2 separate regions of the Homo sapiens genome follow, and region 2 is linked to region 1. Evidence: promoter capture Hi-C in 16 types of primary human blood cells and fetal thymus (Javierre and others, 2016). All regions are on one chromosome and are shown on one strand. The core of a region is centred on a gene start or on the middle of the fragment in contact, and the rest is flanking DNA. Distances in the headings are between cores, read along the strand shown. Region 1 holds the start of IER3IP1 (immediate early response 3 interacting protein 1). Region 2 holds the start of ELOA2 (elongin A2).

Evidence for each region. The method cuts DNA at HindIII sites, captures the fragments that hold promoters and counts their contacts. A CHiCAGO score of 5 or more calls a contact.
Region 2: the fragment with the promoter of ELOA2 here is called in contact with the fragment with the promoter of IER3IP1 in region 1 in 2 of 17 cell types (M2 macrophages and total B cells); the score reaches 5.7 in M2 macrophages.

What each region holds. Positions count from the first base shown.
Region 1 is chr18:47,172,384-47,179,800 of GRCh38, forward strand. It overlaps IER3IP1 (immediate early response 3 interacting protein 1), which reads right to left and starts at 3,981. Exons shown (of 3, transcript NM_016097.5): 1 at 3,804-3,981. The coding sequence starts at 3,894. RefSeq lists enhancers at 3,890-4,009, 4,020-4,149. The HindIII fragment of the contact is 4,620 bases long and covers 2,552-7,171 here.
Region 2 is chr18:47,031,257-47,038,574 of GRCh38, forward strand. It overlaps ELOA2 (elongin A2), which reads right to left and starts at 4,365. Exons shown (of 1, transcript NM_016427.3): 1 at 1,271-4,365. The coding sequence starts at 4,008. The coding sequence ends at 1,747. All of the region lies in intron 3 of KATNAL2 (katanin catalytic subunit A1 like 2), which reads left to right. The HindIII fragment of the contact is 9,917 bases long and covers 1-5,833 here.

The DNA of each region.
Region 1 (7,417 bases), core at 2,731-5,230:
AATTGCTCTTATAAAATCACCAATGACCTCCACTACCCTGAATCAGGATTCTTTTCAGTCCTTAACTTACAGTAGTCCTCCCCCTTAATCTTGGAGATACACTTCAAGATTCCACAGTAGATGCCTGAAACAGAAGATAGTACCCAACCGTATATGTAGTGTATTTTTTTCAATCTGATAACCAAGTGACTAATAGGTGGGTAGCATATACAATGTGCATATGCTGGACAAAGGGAAGATTCATGTCCTCATGATACAGGATTCATCACGCTACTCAGAACAGCTTGCAATTTAAAACATGAATTGCTTATTTCTGCAATTTTCCAATTAGTACTTTCAGATGGCAGGCTACAACTGAAAAGTGTGGAAAGACAAACCACAGATGAGGGGGGACTACTGTACTAAGCTACTCAGTAACATCCCACTGTTGTAGTATCTCTTCAAACACTTCCTGACTCTGGTGAAATCCCACTGTCTAGGTTTTTCCATCTCTCTGTTTTGCTCACTTGTCAAGTTCTCCTGTCAGTTCTTCCATCTCTACCTAAACAATAAATACTAGAGGAGATTCTAGGGCTGTCTGGGGCACCAATTCTTTTTGTACTCTACTGTTTTCTTTCATAATTTCATCTTCTCACATGACTTCATTTATTATCTATGCTTGACAAACTCAAATTTCAATCTCCGCCCTAATTCGTGCTGCTGTTCTATGGATTTAAATGCAACTGGCTATTTTACATCTCCACTTGCGTATCTCATAGAAATCTCAAACTGAGCATGACTAAAATTTATTTCATTATATCTTCACCTTCTTACCTAGCACCATCACCCCAAATTTTCCTCCAATACTGTTTAACTCAGTAAAGGTATTACCCTTCACTCAGTGGCTTAACCCAGAGGGCCAAGAGATCTTTGACTTCATCCACTCTTATTCCCAAAGTCCAAGAGTAAATTCTGCCTTTTATACCTTTTTTTTCTTCCTTCGAGACATAGTCTTGCTCTGTCACCCAGGTTGGAGTGCAGTGGCGTGATCTCAGCTCAATGCAACCTCTGCTTCCCAGGCAAGTGACTCTCCTGCCTAAGCCTCCAGAGTAGCTGGGATTACAGGCGCCCACCACCACACCCTGCTAATTTCTGTATTTTTAGTAGAGACAGGTTTCACCATGTTGTCCAGAGTGGTCTCAAACTCATGACCTCAAGTGATCTGCCCACCTTGGCCTCCTAAAGTGCTAGGCATGAGCCACCATGCCCAGCCTCTACTTTTAAAATATCTTTTGATCCACATAAAATTCCTAGGGCTGCCATAACAAAGCAGCACAAACTGGGTGGCTTAACAGAAATTTTTTCATAATTTTGGAGGCTAAAAGTCTGAAATCAAGGCGTAAGCAGGGTTGGTTCCTTCTGGGGGGCTCTGAGGGATAATCTCATCCATGCCTCTCTCTTAACATCCAGTAGTTGCTGGAAATCCTTGGTATACCTTGTCTTATATATGCATCACTCCAATCTCTGCCTCAGTTGTCACATGATCTTCTGCGTGTGCATCTGTGTGTCTCCAAATCTCTCTTTTCTTATAAGGGCACCAGTCATTGGCTCTAAAGCCCTCAATCTAACCCAGTATGATCTCATCTTAACTTGATTATATCTGCAAAGACTCTGTTTCCAAACAAGGTCACCTTCATAGGTATCAAGGGTTGGGACTTCAACACATCTTTTTGAGGGACACAATTCAAACCCCAACTTGATCCCTTCTACTTTTCTGGATAGCGGTGAACAGATGAACTCTGGAAGATGACATTTGAATCCTAGCTCCACCACTTTCTACTTTCTACCTGTGTGTTCTTACAAAAGCCACCTACTCTCTTTGTGATTCTAGTTTTCCACTGGAAAACAGAAACTCTCTCATAGAGTTGCTGTGAAGGCTACACCAGTTAATATATGTAAGGCACTTGATACAGATCCTGTACGTAAGTGCTACGTAAGTATTAGCTATTATTATTGTTGTCATACCCACTTGTATCTACTTGCCCTATTTAGAATTGTTCTTCCTTGGGAGGCCGAGGTGGGCAGATCACGAGGTCAGGAGTTCGAGACCAGCCTGACCAACATGGTGAAACCCCATTTCTACTACAAATACAAAAATTAGCCAGGCTTGGTGGTGCGTGCCTGTAATCCCAGCCATTCGGGAAGCTGAGGCAGGAGAATCGCTTGAACCTGGGAGGCGGAGGATGCAGTGAACCGAGATTGCGCCACTGCACTCCAGCCGGGGGGACAGGGTGAGACTCCGTCTCAAAAAAAAAAAAAAATGGGTCTTCCCACATCCACTGCTTTCCCTTCCAATCTTTCCTCCGTATTGTAGCCTCAAGGATCTTGCAAATAACACAAATCTGGTCATGTCGCTGTCTTAAGACCCTCTTCTCACCTGCCTCAGTTTTCACACCAGGTCTACACTGCTTAAAGCTCTCCTCACCCTTCCAGCTCCTCCCAACCCTTCACCTTCACCGAGTTAATGTTTACTCATGTATCAGATTTCAGGTTAGACACGCTTCCTCCAAGAAGCTTTCGCAGATACACAAGTTAGTATCTGCCCGTACTTCTCTTACATAATACTCTCTATACTTGTTATTGTCATTTGTTTAGTTTTTATTTAGATTAACTTCCATCAGAAGGGCAGAGTAGCTGCTGTAACTTCAGTTACTATAAATGGGCCTGGCACATACTTTGCACTCAATAAATATCTTCTGAAGTAAATGAAATGAATCAATCTTGCTCCTGGGTTTACGTTTCAGTGATTCAAACGGGCATACTTGGTACACAACGTGAGGTCCTGGAAGGTATAACTTGTGTTTTCATTTTTGAATTTCTAAATTCTAGCAGAGTTTTTGGCACACTCTATGCACCCAATAAGCTATCTGAATAAACTTTTCTTGGAACATGAGTGTCTGAATGTCCTGATAACTCCAACACGTTCCCTTCCTGTAATTCCTAAAGCCCAGGAACACTTATTGCCTTCCATCAGTTAGTGAACTACTGATGCTCCAAAATGGGTCACGCCTCCTTCCCCTCCACACCCAACTCGTTTTGTTTTGTTTGTTTTGTTTTGTTAGACGGAGTCTCACTCTATTGCCCAGGCTGGAGTGCAATGGCGCAATCTCGGCTCACTGCAACCTCTGCCTCCCAGGTTTAAGTGATTCTCCTGCCTCAGCCTCCCGCCCGGCTAATTTTTGTATTTCCACCACCACGTCCGGCTAATCTTTGTATTTTTAGTAGAGACGGGGTTTTACCATGTTGGCCAGGCTGGTCCCAAACTCCTGACATCATGATCCGCCGGCCTCGGCCTGCCAAAGTGCTGGGATTACAGGCGGGAGCCACCGCGCCCGGCCCCACACCCCCAACTCTTAGCCCGAAACTCAGACCCCGGGTTTTCGACTATTAAAAGTAGTCACAGGACCGCGACACTGCACTTCAGCCTGGGCAAAAGAGCGAGACTCCCCCTCAAAAAAAAAAGTAGTCACAGAAAACTGAATTAAATTACTGACCTGAAGTAATCGCAAGCAGAGGCGTCCCTGACTGACTTCTATATCCCTCCACCCCAACCCCCTGGGCCCTGCACAGCGGGTGTCTGTTGAATATTCTCCCGGCTGTTGAGCCCAAACCTGATGAGAGGAAAGGCTCGGCTTCCACTCCAAGCCGAGCCTTCCGCTGTTCTTCTGTCCCGGCCCTTGGTGTCCCCTCACGCGGCCCCATTAGGTTACGCGCCCCCGGGGACTCCGCCGCCGCCCCAGCCCGCGCCCCGCGGTCCCACTCACTGTTCTTGAGGAATCGCTCCTCGTGCAGCACTGCGATGGCGTTGACGCAGAGCAGGGCTGCCTGCAGCAGTGAGTACAGGGTAAAGGCCATGGCCGTCCGAGGCCGCCCCGAAGTCCAAGCGATTTCTCTCCCGCCGCCGCAAGGGACGTGGCGCCTCCACGGCCGGCGCCTTCCTACGGAAGCCGATGGGGCCCAAAACGAACTCTCCGGGAAGCCCCGCCTCCATCTGGCTAAGAACCGCCCCTCGCTGAAGACTGCAAGTCCTGCCGCTTGTCTAGACCGGTGATGTGCAATCAATGCTCTGATGTGGCCAGTGCTGCAGGTGCAAAATACACACCGGATTTCACACACTTGGAACTGGAACAAGGATGAAGAATATCCCAATAATTTTTTTTTTTTTGAGATGGAGTCTGGCCCTGTCGCCCAAACTGGAGTGCAGTGGCACGATCTCGGCTCACTGCAAGCTCCGACTCCCGGGTTCACGCCATTCTCCTGCCTCAGCCTCCCAAGTAGCTGGGACTACAGGTGCCCGCCACCACGCCCGGCTAATTTTTTGTATTTTTAGTAGAGACGGGGTTTCACCGTGTTAGCCAGGATGGTCTCAATCTCCTGACCTCGTGATTCCCCCCTCCTCGGCCTCCCAATAATTTTTAAATGTTGATAACATGTTGAAATGAAAATATTTTGAGGCCGGGCGCAGTGGCTCACGCCTGTAATTCTAGCACTTTGGGAAACCGAGGCGGGCAAATCACCTAAGGTCAAGAGTTCGAGACCAGTCTGGCCAACATGGCAAAACCCTGTCTCTACTGAAAATACAAAAATTAGCTGGGTGTGATGGTGGGCTCCTGTAATCCCAGCTACTCAGGAGGCTGAGAGAAGAGAATCACTTGAACCCGGGAGGCAGAGACTGCAGTGAGCCGAGATCCAGCCTGGGTGACAGAGCAAGAGGAAAGAAGGAAGGAAGGGAGGAAGGTTTCTTGTTTATTTTTAATTATTTTATTTAATGTGGTTATGAAGATACTGTAAATGACATGTGACGCTTGCATTATATTTCTATTGCTCAGTACTGCACTTGATGCTCCCAGGAGATACAGGAGATACTAATATTCCCATTTCAGATTTCAGAATGCTAAAACAAAATAACTGTTTTAAAATTACTCAGTGAGAAACATCCCCTCCTTGACCAAACTCCAACCAAGATCCTCTGAGCCTCTTCTTTTTTTTTTTCCCCCCCCAGGAACAGGGTCTTGCTCTGTTGCCCAGGCTGGAGTGCAGTGGCACCATCATAGCTCAATGCAGCCTTCAGCTCCTGGCTCGAGCAGTCCTCCTGCCTTAGCCTCCTGCTTAGCTGTATGTGATGGTTAAGACTGAGTGTCAACTTGATTGGATTGAAGGATGCAAAGTATTGATCCTGGGTGTGTCTGTGAGGGTGTTGCCAAAGGAGATTAACATTTGAGTCAGTGGGCTGGGAAAGACAGGTCCACTCTTAATCCAAGTGGGCACCATCTAATCAGCTGCTGGAGTGGCCAGGATATAAAGCAGGCAAAAAACCAATGAAAAGGGTATGCCAAGACCAGCTCGGTTGGGGAGACCCTAACCCAGCGGTGCTAGAGGAATTAAAGACACACACAGAGGTGTGAAGTGGGAAATCAGGGGTCTTATAGCCTTCAGAGCTGAGATCCCCGAACAAAGATTTACCCACGTATTTATTAACAGCAAACCAGTCATTAGCATTGTTTCTATAGATGTTAAATTAACTAAAAGTATCCCTTATGGGAAATGAAGGGATGGGCCGAATTAATTGCAGCAGGAACACATCCTTAAGACACAGATCTCTCAGGCTTTTGTTTGTGGCTTAAGAATGCCTTTAAGCAGTTTTCCAACCTGGGTGGGCCAGGTATTCCTTGCCCTCATTCCCGTAAACCCACAACCTTCCAGCTTGGGCGTTAGGGCCATTATGGACATGTTATAGTGCTGCAGAGATTTTATTTATGGCCAGTTTTGGGGCTAGTTTATGGCCAGACTGTTGGGGGCTTGCTCTCAACAAGGGTAGACTGGCTTAGCCTCCCAGCCTACATCTTTCTCCCATGCTGGATGCTTCCTACCCTTGAACGTTGGACTTCAAGTTCTTCAGCTTTGGGACTCAGACTGGCTTCCTCAGCTTGCAGACGGCTTATTGTGGGATCTTGTGATCGTGTGAGTTAATAGTACCGAATAAGCTCCCTCTTTGTATATATATCTCCTATTAGTTCTGTCCCTCTAGAGAATACTGACTAATACACTCTATTACAGGAATGGGTCATCCCGCCAGGCTGAGCCCTCTTCTTGACAACACCTCAATATTGGCCACTTAAAAACTACAGATTCTCAGCCTGGGGAACATGGCAAGACCCTGTCTCTACCAAAAATACAAAAAAAAAAAAAAAATGCCTCAGCTTAGTGGTATACACCTGTGGTCCCAGCTACTAAGGAGGCTGAGGTGGGAGGATCACTTGCACCCAGGGAACGGAGGTTGCAGTGAGCTGAGATTGAGCCATTGCACTCCAGCTTGGGTGACAGAACAAGACCCTGTCTAAAAAACAAAACAGGCTGGGCGCGGTGGCTCACACCTGTAATCCCAGCACTTTGGAAGGCCGAGGCGGGTGGATCACAAGGTCAGGAGATCTAGACCATCCTGGCTAACACAATGAAACCCCATCTCTATTTTTTAAAAATACAAATAAATTAGCCGGGCATGGTGGCGGGCACCTATATTCCCAGCTACCCGGGAGGCTGAGGCTGGAGAACGGCATGAACCCGGGAGTCGGAGCTTGCAGTGAGCCGAGATCACGCCACTGCACTCCAGCCTGGGTTACAGAGTGAGATTCCATCTCAAAAAAAAAAAAAAAAAAAAAAAAAAAACACTACAGATTCTCCACACAAATGATATGCATATTGTGTATCTCCTTTACCCAACACTAAAACACTTGAATACTAACATAGTTTCTTTTTTTAATTGTATTTATTTATTTTAAGACAAAGTCTTGCTTTGTCACCAGGCTGGAGTGCAGTGGCAGTGGTGCCATCTCAGCTCACTGCAATCTCCGCCTCCTGGGTTCAAGCGATTCTTCTGCCTCAGCCTTCTGAGTAGCTGGGACTATAAGCGCGTGCCACTACGCCCAGCTAATTTTTTGTATTTTTAGTAGAGACAGGGTTTCACCGTGTTAGCCAGGATGGTCTTGATCTCCTGACTTCGTGATTCCATCCACCTCAGCCTCCCACAGTGCTGGGATTACAGGCGTGAGCCGCTGTGTTTGGCTGAATACTAACATAGTTTCTAACAGCTCGCTGTTGCATTCAGTTGCTACTGTTGCTACTTGCCTGAAAAAGCTTCAGGCTGCCAAAAAATTTACTGTTTGTTTTAGCCAACACCTTACAATAGGCCCCAACCTTCCTTTCTTAGAGCGTTTACTCAAGAGGGCTTACAATTGTGAATCCTTCTCCTGTCCCTTTGAGATGTACATGTTTCTCCTACAACTCAGGAGCATCTTTCTCAAGGACCTGAAAGCCATCCCTTTAAAATGTAATCAATCATCAGGAAGGTTAAGAGCCTCTGTCTTCCAATCTCTATGGG
Region 2 (7,318 bases), core at 3,115-5,614, 140 kb before region 1:
GGTGCCACGGTTTGGGCAGCGGAGTTCCACTCTTACCTTTCAGTCCGAATGAGGAAAACAGATCCATTTGAAATATGTATGTTTTCGGCTTTTGTTTCTGCTGTCGTTGGCAGTTTCGCGTAATTTTTAATTTCTCGTGTGACTTTTTTTGTGTCTCTCTGTCTTTCTTTTTGTGTGTGTTGTGGTGGGGGCGGGGTGTGTTTCTTCTGCAGAAAGAAAATCATTATGCCCTGAGAATCGGGGAATGGGGATTCGGGTGTTAAGCCTTTTCTTATAAGTACCCTTCCACAGTTTGTAGAAAAATAGGTAAATTTGCTGTGTTTCCAGACTTCCAGCTACTTCTCCAGGAGAATCGTAGTGTAATACTGGCAATTCTTCAGAGCTAGAATGAGGATTATTTTAGTAGAGATGGGATCTTTTTCATATTGGTCGTCCTGGTCTTTAACTCCTTACCTTATGTGATCCACCCACCTCGGCCTCCCAAAGTGCTGAGGTAGGGCCTTGAGCCTCCCCACCTGGACTTTTTTGAGTTTTATATGGTTACTGGCAGTGTCACATCCCTTTTCCCAGAAAGAATGCTTTCTTGTCTTCCTGAAATGCAGTATCCCTTTGTCTCCATCCTGGCTTTTTTCCTGTGTGTGTGTGTATCATATCTGGCATACGTTCCTTTGATTACCAGCCCGTGTGAGGCCAACAAATGCCCTGCTTTATAATGAAAAGTTTTAAGAAAGCTAGCAGACGTCCGTGTGATCTGAACTCAAGGTAGTTAACCCGGTCCTTTCATGGTAATTAGAAAATCTGATTGGCCTCTTTAGACTTCTTGATTCAGAACCTAAATAAGCTGATTAATGTGTCACCATTCTTTCATAGGGGTTCTGGGTGAAAAGTTTGGGAATGATTCTATGTGTTACTTAGGGAAACTATTTTGGCTTAACGCATGTACCAGTGATTACCATTCACTTATGAAATCCGATAGTTCCTTTTTTCTAAGAAATAGCAGTTTTCTTTGAGCCATGCTCAGGTTCTGTCACCCAGCCTGAAGTGCAGTGGAATGATGAAGGGTCACTGCAACCTCTACTTGCCCAGCTCAGGCAATCCTGCCACCTCAGCCCTTTAAGAAGCTGGGACCACATGGACCGTGCCACCATGCCAGGCTAGTTTTGATATCTTTTGCAGAGACGGGGTTTTCCTATTTTGCCCAGGCTGTTCTTCACCTACTAGGCTCAAGCGAACTGCTTTCCTCCACCTCCCAAAGGAGGATGGCTCACGATTACAAGATCATGCTCAGCCTTTTATTAAAACAACAACAACGGCAGCAACAGCAAACATTTTATGTATTCGGAGTTATCAGTGTCAACTAATGGCTTGTGTGTTTTTGTCTAAGAAGTTCTTATCTACTTGATTTCGAAAAAAAAAAGAAAGGAAAAAGGAAATCTCACATCTTTTTCCTTATTTATGATTACAACTAGGGTGTTTTTAAAAATTATCAGTGAACATCCAAAATAGAATTGTTCCCAATGCGTTCATATCTTCTGAATTCTGAGGTGTTCTCCAAGCTGGGAGGTAGTGGCTGGGTGTGGGAGGCAAAATCACAGGGCCAGCACATGACACCTGCAGAATTCAAAGGCTCAACTTTGCACCAAGTTAAAGGTTCTGGTGTCCATTGGAAGTTTCGTTCCCCAACCCGCATTGACTTTGCCAATGCAAAAATCCCCCCAGATTTTATCTGCAAGGCAAGTCCTGAGTTTATCGTCGGGAGAATCTTCTCTTGTAGTCTCGAATTGCCTTGGCCATCAGCGGGGCCACTTTCTTGGCAGCCTGTTTCCGGGTTTTGGCCGCGGGCGCCGCGTGCTCATTGCTGCTGCTCAGGCAGGGGTTGGCCCGCTTCTCAGGGAGCCAGCGAAGGATGCTGCTGCTGCTGTCTCTGCCACCGCCGCTGCTGCTCTGGCTGGAGGGAGTGTGGCTGCTTCCCGCGGGCTTGGAGGCTGGCTTGATCTCCCCATTTTCGGGGTCAGCGTCTCCTGCAGACTTCTCTTGCCTCCTTGAAGTATCATAAGGCGTCTTGGCCACAGATTTGAAACAGATCATCTTTGCCTCTCTGCCGTTGGGGTTGTTTCCACGTGCAGATCGGATATTCGTTGTCATTACTCTCAGCCGCTGCTCTGGGGCGTCCGGAAGCCGCAGGTACTGCTCCCTCCAAGTTTTGTTTTCCTGTGGCTTTTCTTCCTTGAAGTCCTGGAAACAATGATTCCTCCGTAATTCGTCTGTCTCTCTAACGAGTGCGTGATTGTCTTTCTTTCTGCGATACAGCTGATCGGGCCTCCACCCTTCCAGAACAGGTTCAAGAACCCAGTAGGGGACCTCTCCCACGTCGCTGAGGGCGTCCGGATTGTTTCTAAGCACCTGGGCACACTGCTGGCGCAGCGTCGGCACCTGGAGCTGGCAGGCAGGCCTGGAGCCCGAGTACACCGGCATCTTAGCATTCACTCTGCGTCCAGGGAAAGCAGCTTCCTCCCGGAACTTTGGTGAAGAGAGTGCTTCTGGCTTTGCCTGGGAGGTCATGGAGTCAGAATCCGAAAGCGGATCGTAGTTGGCCTGCATCCAGGCCTCTGAGAGGTCCCAGAGCTCTGAGAAGACATGGCTGGGCACCGTTTTCGGCCCGGCGGAATCAGCGCCGGCCGCCTGCAGCCTCTCTGACTGGCTTTCCTGGACAGGAGGCAATTTCTTAGCCGAATCCCAGGACTCACGAGTGCCCTTGGATTCGTTTGCTTTCCTTTGTTTATCTCCAAGTGCAGTGGTGGCAGATTTTCCAGTCTTTTTCTTTTGCTTCCGCAACTGATCGTAGGTGAGGTATTTTTCACATGACAGAGTGGGCTGCTCGAATTCCTCAGCCATATCTACCTCCTCCACCTCAGAGAGGGAGCTCACGGACGTTCTGTCCAAATGAGCAGTCGGTGGCTTCCCCTCTTGAGTCTCTCGGTCGTTGGAAAGCTGCTCTTTCTCCTCGGGCGACAGGCCGTGTGTCCCATTTCCTGGGTCCCGGCCGTCTAGACTGGGCCTCTTCTTGTTCGAGTGACTGTGCTGAGGCCTCTTCTGGTGACTGTCTGGAGCCTCCTCCAAGGCAGGGACACGCTGGCCGCTGCCAGCTTGCCCCCCTTCCTTGTCTGTCTTGAAGTCCGAAGGCTGCCTGTCCCTGGCACTTGCCCAGGAGGGCATCCTTGGGGTTTCCTCTCTTAAGCAGGCCCCGCATGATTTCTCCCTGATCAAAGTAGGGGAGTGCCAATCTCCCTGGGCACACAAGGGGCGTTTTTCCTGGCGAGACGATTTGTGCCCCTTGCTGTGGCTCACAACGGCTTTCCCCTGGGGTTGGCCCTGGCAGCCTGGACACAGCAGAGGCCCGCCCTGAGCCGCGTGAGTGTGGCCTCTTCCGGGTTGCTTCCCGGGCGCAGCGGGCTCAGGGCCCTCGGGCATCCGGAGGGGAGCTGTGCGCGTTGGAGAGGCCCGATAGCGGCCGGAATCAGCTGGGGCTATTCTGGGGCACTTTCTCTCAGCTCTGGGCTCGCGACTGTGAGACCTCGGGTGAGGTCTCTGTTGCCCCGGAGGTGTTCTGCGTGCTGTCCGTCTGTGCTCAGGGCTGTGAGATGGGCTCCTGGGGGCCGTCGCGTTTTCTGGGAAGCCCCAGGCCTTTTCCTGGTCCTGAAGAGCCTCCCCGAAGCGCTGTCGGGAAGCGCTCTCCTCAGGGTCCTGTGGGCCAGGCCGGGTGTTTCGGTCCACGAGCACCAGCTTCTTCCACCGGGCCGCTAAGTCTCTGGCAAAGTCGCCCACGTGCTGGTGCTTCCGCAGGCGCTTCACCGTCTTTCTGATTCCAGTCTCCGCCAGGATGTCTGCCGTCATGGGCAAGGCGGAGAGTTTCTGCAAATATTTCTCTAGCTTTTTCGGCTCCGTCTTAGTGGCCAGACGCACCTGCAGCTTCTCCACTGCGTGCAGCGTAGTGGACCCTGCCGCCATCTCACCAGAGCTGTGCAGGCGTCGCTGTCCCGGCGGTCGCAGCTCTGTCTTTGGGGCTGCGGGACAGGAAGTCTGGGGTGGCCGGTCCTCGCTGCCCGGTCGCCAGGCAGCGACCTCGGGATGTGGAGTCACAGCCTGGAGCGAGCTGGGTCCTCGGAGCAGCAGGCCACTTGGTCTGGAACGGCCGTCCTTGCAGACAGCTGAGCAGGCCCGCTTTTGTTCCTCGGGATGTGGAGCCACAGCCTGGAGTGACCTCTGCAGTTTGCTGTGCAACAAAGAATGAAGCTCTGGTGCCAGAGCTGGGCCTTATGTAGCCCATCCCAGGCTGACACTCACGGCTCTAGCCCTGACCCTCTTAGCTCTTGGGCTGCCCCGCCCCCATACGTACTCATGCCGTCAGCACAATGCAGACAATCGGGACGGTCCACGCCAGGTGGACTGCTGTGCCCCAGAGGTTGATTAGGTTAATTTCAGCCTCGACACACCCCACTGAGTTTTACCGTTGACCTTCCATGTTCGCAGGTTCCACATCTGTGAATTCCAAAAAACACAGACTGAATCTTCTTGGGAGTAAAACAGAAAATAACACAGCAAGACAAAATCATAGAAAGAAGAACCAATACAGGATAACAACTCTTTGCCTAGGACTGATGTTGTGTGAGGGGACTTCCCAAATTTGTCAAAACAGGGATTAAAAGACAAAAATAAAACCGGTAGATTTTATTTCTTAACATCTGCTCCATCAATTTCGAGACAGTAGTTCGAGCACTGTCTTGACCCCGCCTTGTCCCTCAAGCCCTGATGTTTCTGGGAATTTAACTATTTCCAAGAAATCTTTTTTCCATTATTAACTGAAGAAAACTGGGTGCCGTTTGCAGAATTTTTAATACGAGGAAATAAATAGAAGTCAGCAGGTTCCACATCATGACTGCAAGGTGGACGCCTCATGATCTCCTTTTGAAACTCTTGCCAAACTGCCCTTTGTTCAGTGAAATGCTACAGCAAGAACTTTTTCATGATTAGGTAGAACTCTCTGGTAATGGTTTTTCTGCTCATGCTTTGGCTAGTTTTCTCAAAAACTCTGTTAGTAAGCATATTTGATCTTGGTTTGGCCCTTCAAAAAGTCTTTTAGTCATATCTTTTGAGCATTCCCCAAAACTGTTGCCATGACCTCTTCTCTTGACTGGTCCTCTCTGTCTTTGACTGGAGTGCTGCCACCTTTTGGTAGCCTTTGTTTTGTGCTCTTTCTTCAGGACTATCCAGTGTAGCCATGTTTTATCCCCGCTTACAAATCTTGGAATAAATATTTCTGGATCTTCTTCCACCTGTTTTAAAACTTTAAAGAAATTTTTACTCTTGTCTCTAGCTATTATTGTTGAAACAGATTTGGTATCTGGATCGGACTTTAATTTTCAGTGACAATTATTAAAACAGGATCATTTGAAATATCTATGGTTTTTTCTCTTATTTCTGTTGTTACTTATTTACCCTCTCAAATTAGGGAACACTTGGTCCTATGTTTCTGAGCATAGTTGACCAATTCTGACATTGTATTAAATTCAATAAATGTCTTTTCTGGATCTGTAGACACTTCTTTTGATATTTCTAGCATTTTTTTGGGTTGTACAGCATTTGAAAGTTAGGAAGTTTCCTGGCAGAGCCAGGAGATAGTCAGGAAACAAACAAGAAACAAATTAGAACCTACAGGTATATATATTCAACCTTTTAGGGGAATATTAGATGCAGGGACTGTAAAACAGAAGTATAGTAAAGACATTTGAAAGAAGTGATGTATGCTTTTTAACTGTTTGTTTTTGAGATTGAAAGCTTAATGCAAAATTTGGATCTTATTACTGAAATTGAAACGAGCTCATGCAAATTAATCTCCATTGCACCCGTAAAAAGGAAATTAAAAGCACTAATGTTGCATGTGGTGTATATACAGTAACATTTCCTAAATATCTTCTGGGTCTAAAACTGGGAATGATATTCAATGCTTCCTTTTCCTCAGGCTATGGTATCATAGGATTCAATTTTGAATTTGATAATGGAGGTATATTTGTGGCACAATAGCCCACAAAGGAAATGAAAGAAAACAAAAACAGCCAGATTATTGAAACATGCAAATGAGACACCTAGATTAGATGTTCACTTCTGGGCCTCCTTTCTTTGTACACAGAAATTAATGAGCATGTAATTGTGTCCATTTCAGGGGCACACCATCTCTTACAGTTTAAATGGATCCTTTTTGCGGGGAATGGCTCATTCTTAGTTTTTTTTAATTCAGAAGATAATTTTCTAGGTTAATTTGAATGGCCTGGGCAGAAAGATGTAGATCTGGCCAACTTTATACCTTTAATTAAGAAATTTGTAAGACTGCATTCTGTGTTTTCAGTAACAGAAGCTCATCTTAAATATTTAACACTACATTTGGAATAGTGTTTTTAAAACTCTCTTTTCCTGCTTTACTCTTACTGAATTCTGAATTTTTATCACTCTTACCACAAAATAAAAATCACATTATTATTTTAAGACCTGGTCACCACAAGTAAAAGCTGCTTCACAGTCCACATAGTAGGAAAGCCATTTTTTTTTTTTTATTAGAGATGGGAGTCTCCCTATGTTGCCCAGGCTGCTCTCAAACTCCTGGGCTCAAGTGATCCTCCCACCTTGGCCTCCCAAATTGCTGGGATTACAGGAGTGAGCCACAGTGCCCGACCATGAAAAGCCATTTTTGATGCAGCCTCATTACCAGACAGAGTTCTAAAGGACTCAGCCAATCCCCATTATAGACATCGACTCTTTTGCAAACTGTGATTCTAATAAAAAAAAAGTGGAAATTCTTTTGATTGGAGTTGAAGTACCTGCCATTTTGCAGAAATGTAATGAAAACCCTGAGTAAGCCTGTCTTTTAGGCTATTCTTTCAAAAGTATGATCAACATTGCTCAGATTTGTTTAGGATTAAGAATTAGACCTCTGTCTCAAGAATTAGAGCTTTTGCTTTCTTATTTATCCTGATTAACTGTGTTAATTAGGTCAGTGGTTCACTGTTTAAATGACTCTCCAGGGATTCTAAAAAGGAGTTTGAAGGAAATAATTCTGACAAATGTTCCAACTTGCTTTTATTAGGGTTGCTATGAAACTCACTATCCTACCTGTGGGTAGTAGAAAATAAACTGTATTTTTCTGCCTCTGTGTATGTGCATGTATGTGCACACATGGAGTATTTCTATAATATAGTGTAATTGATCCTCTAGAGTATAAATTGCTGAGTGATATTGCTGGGTCGACAGGTATGCGCATTTTTCT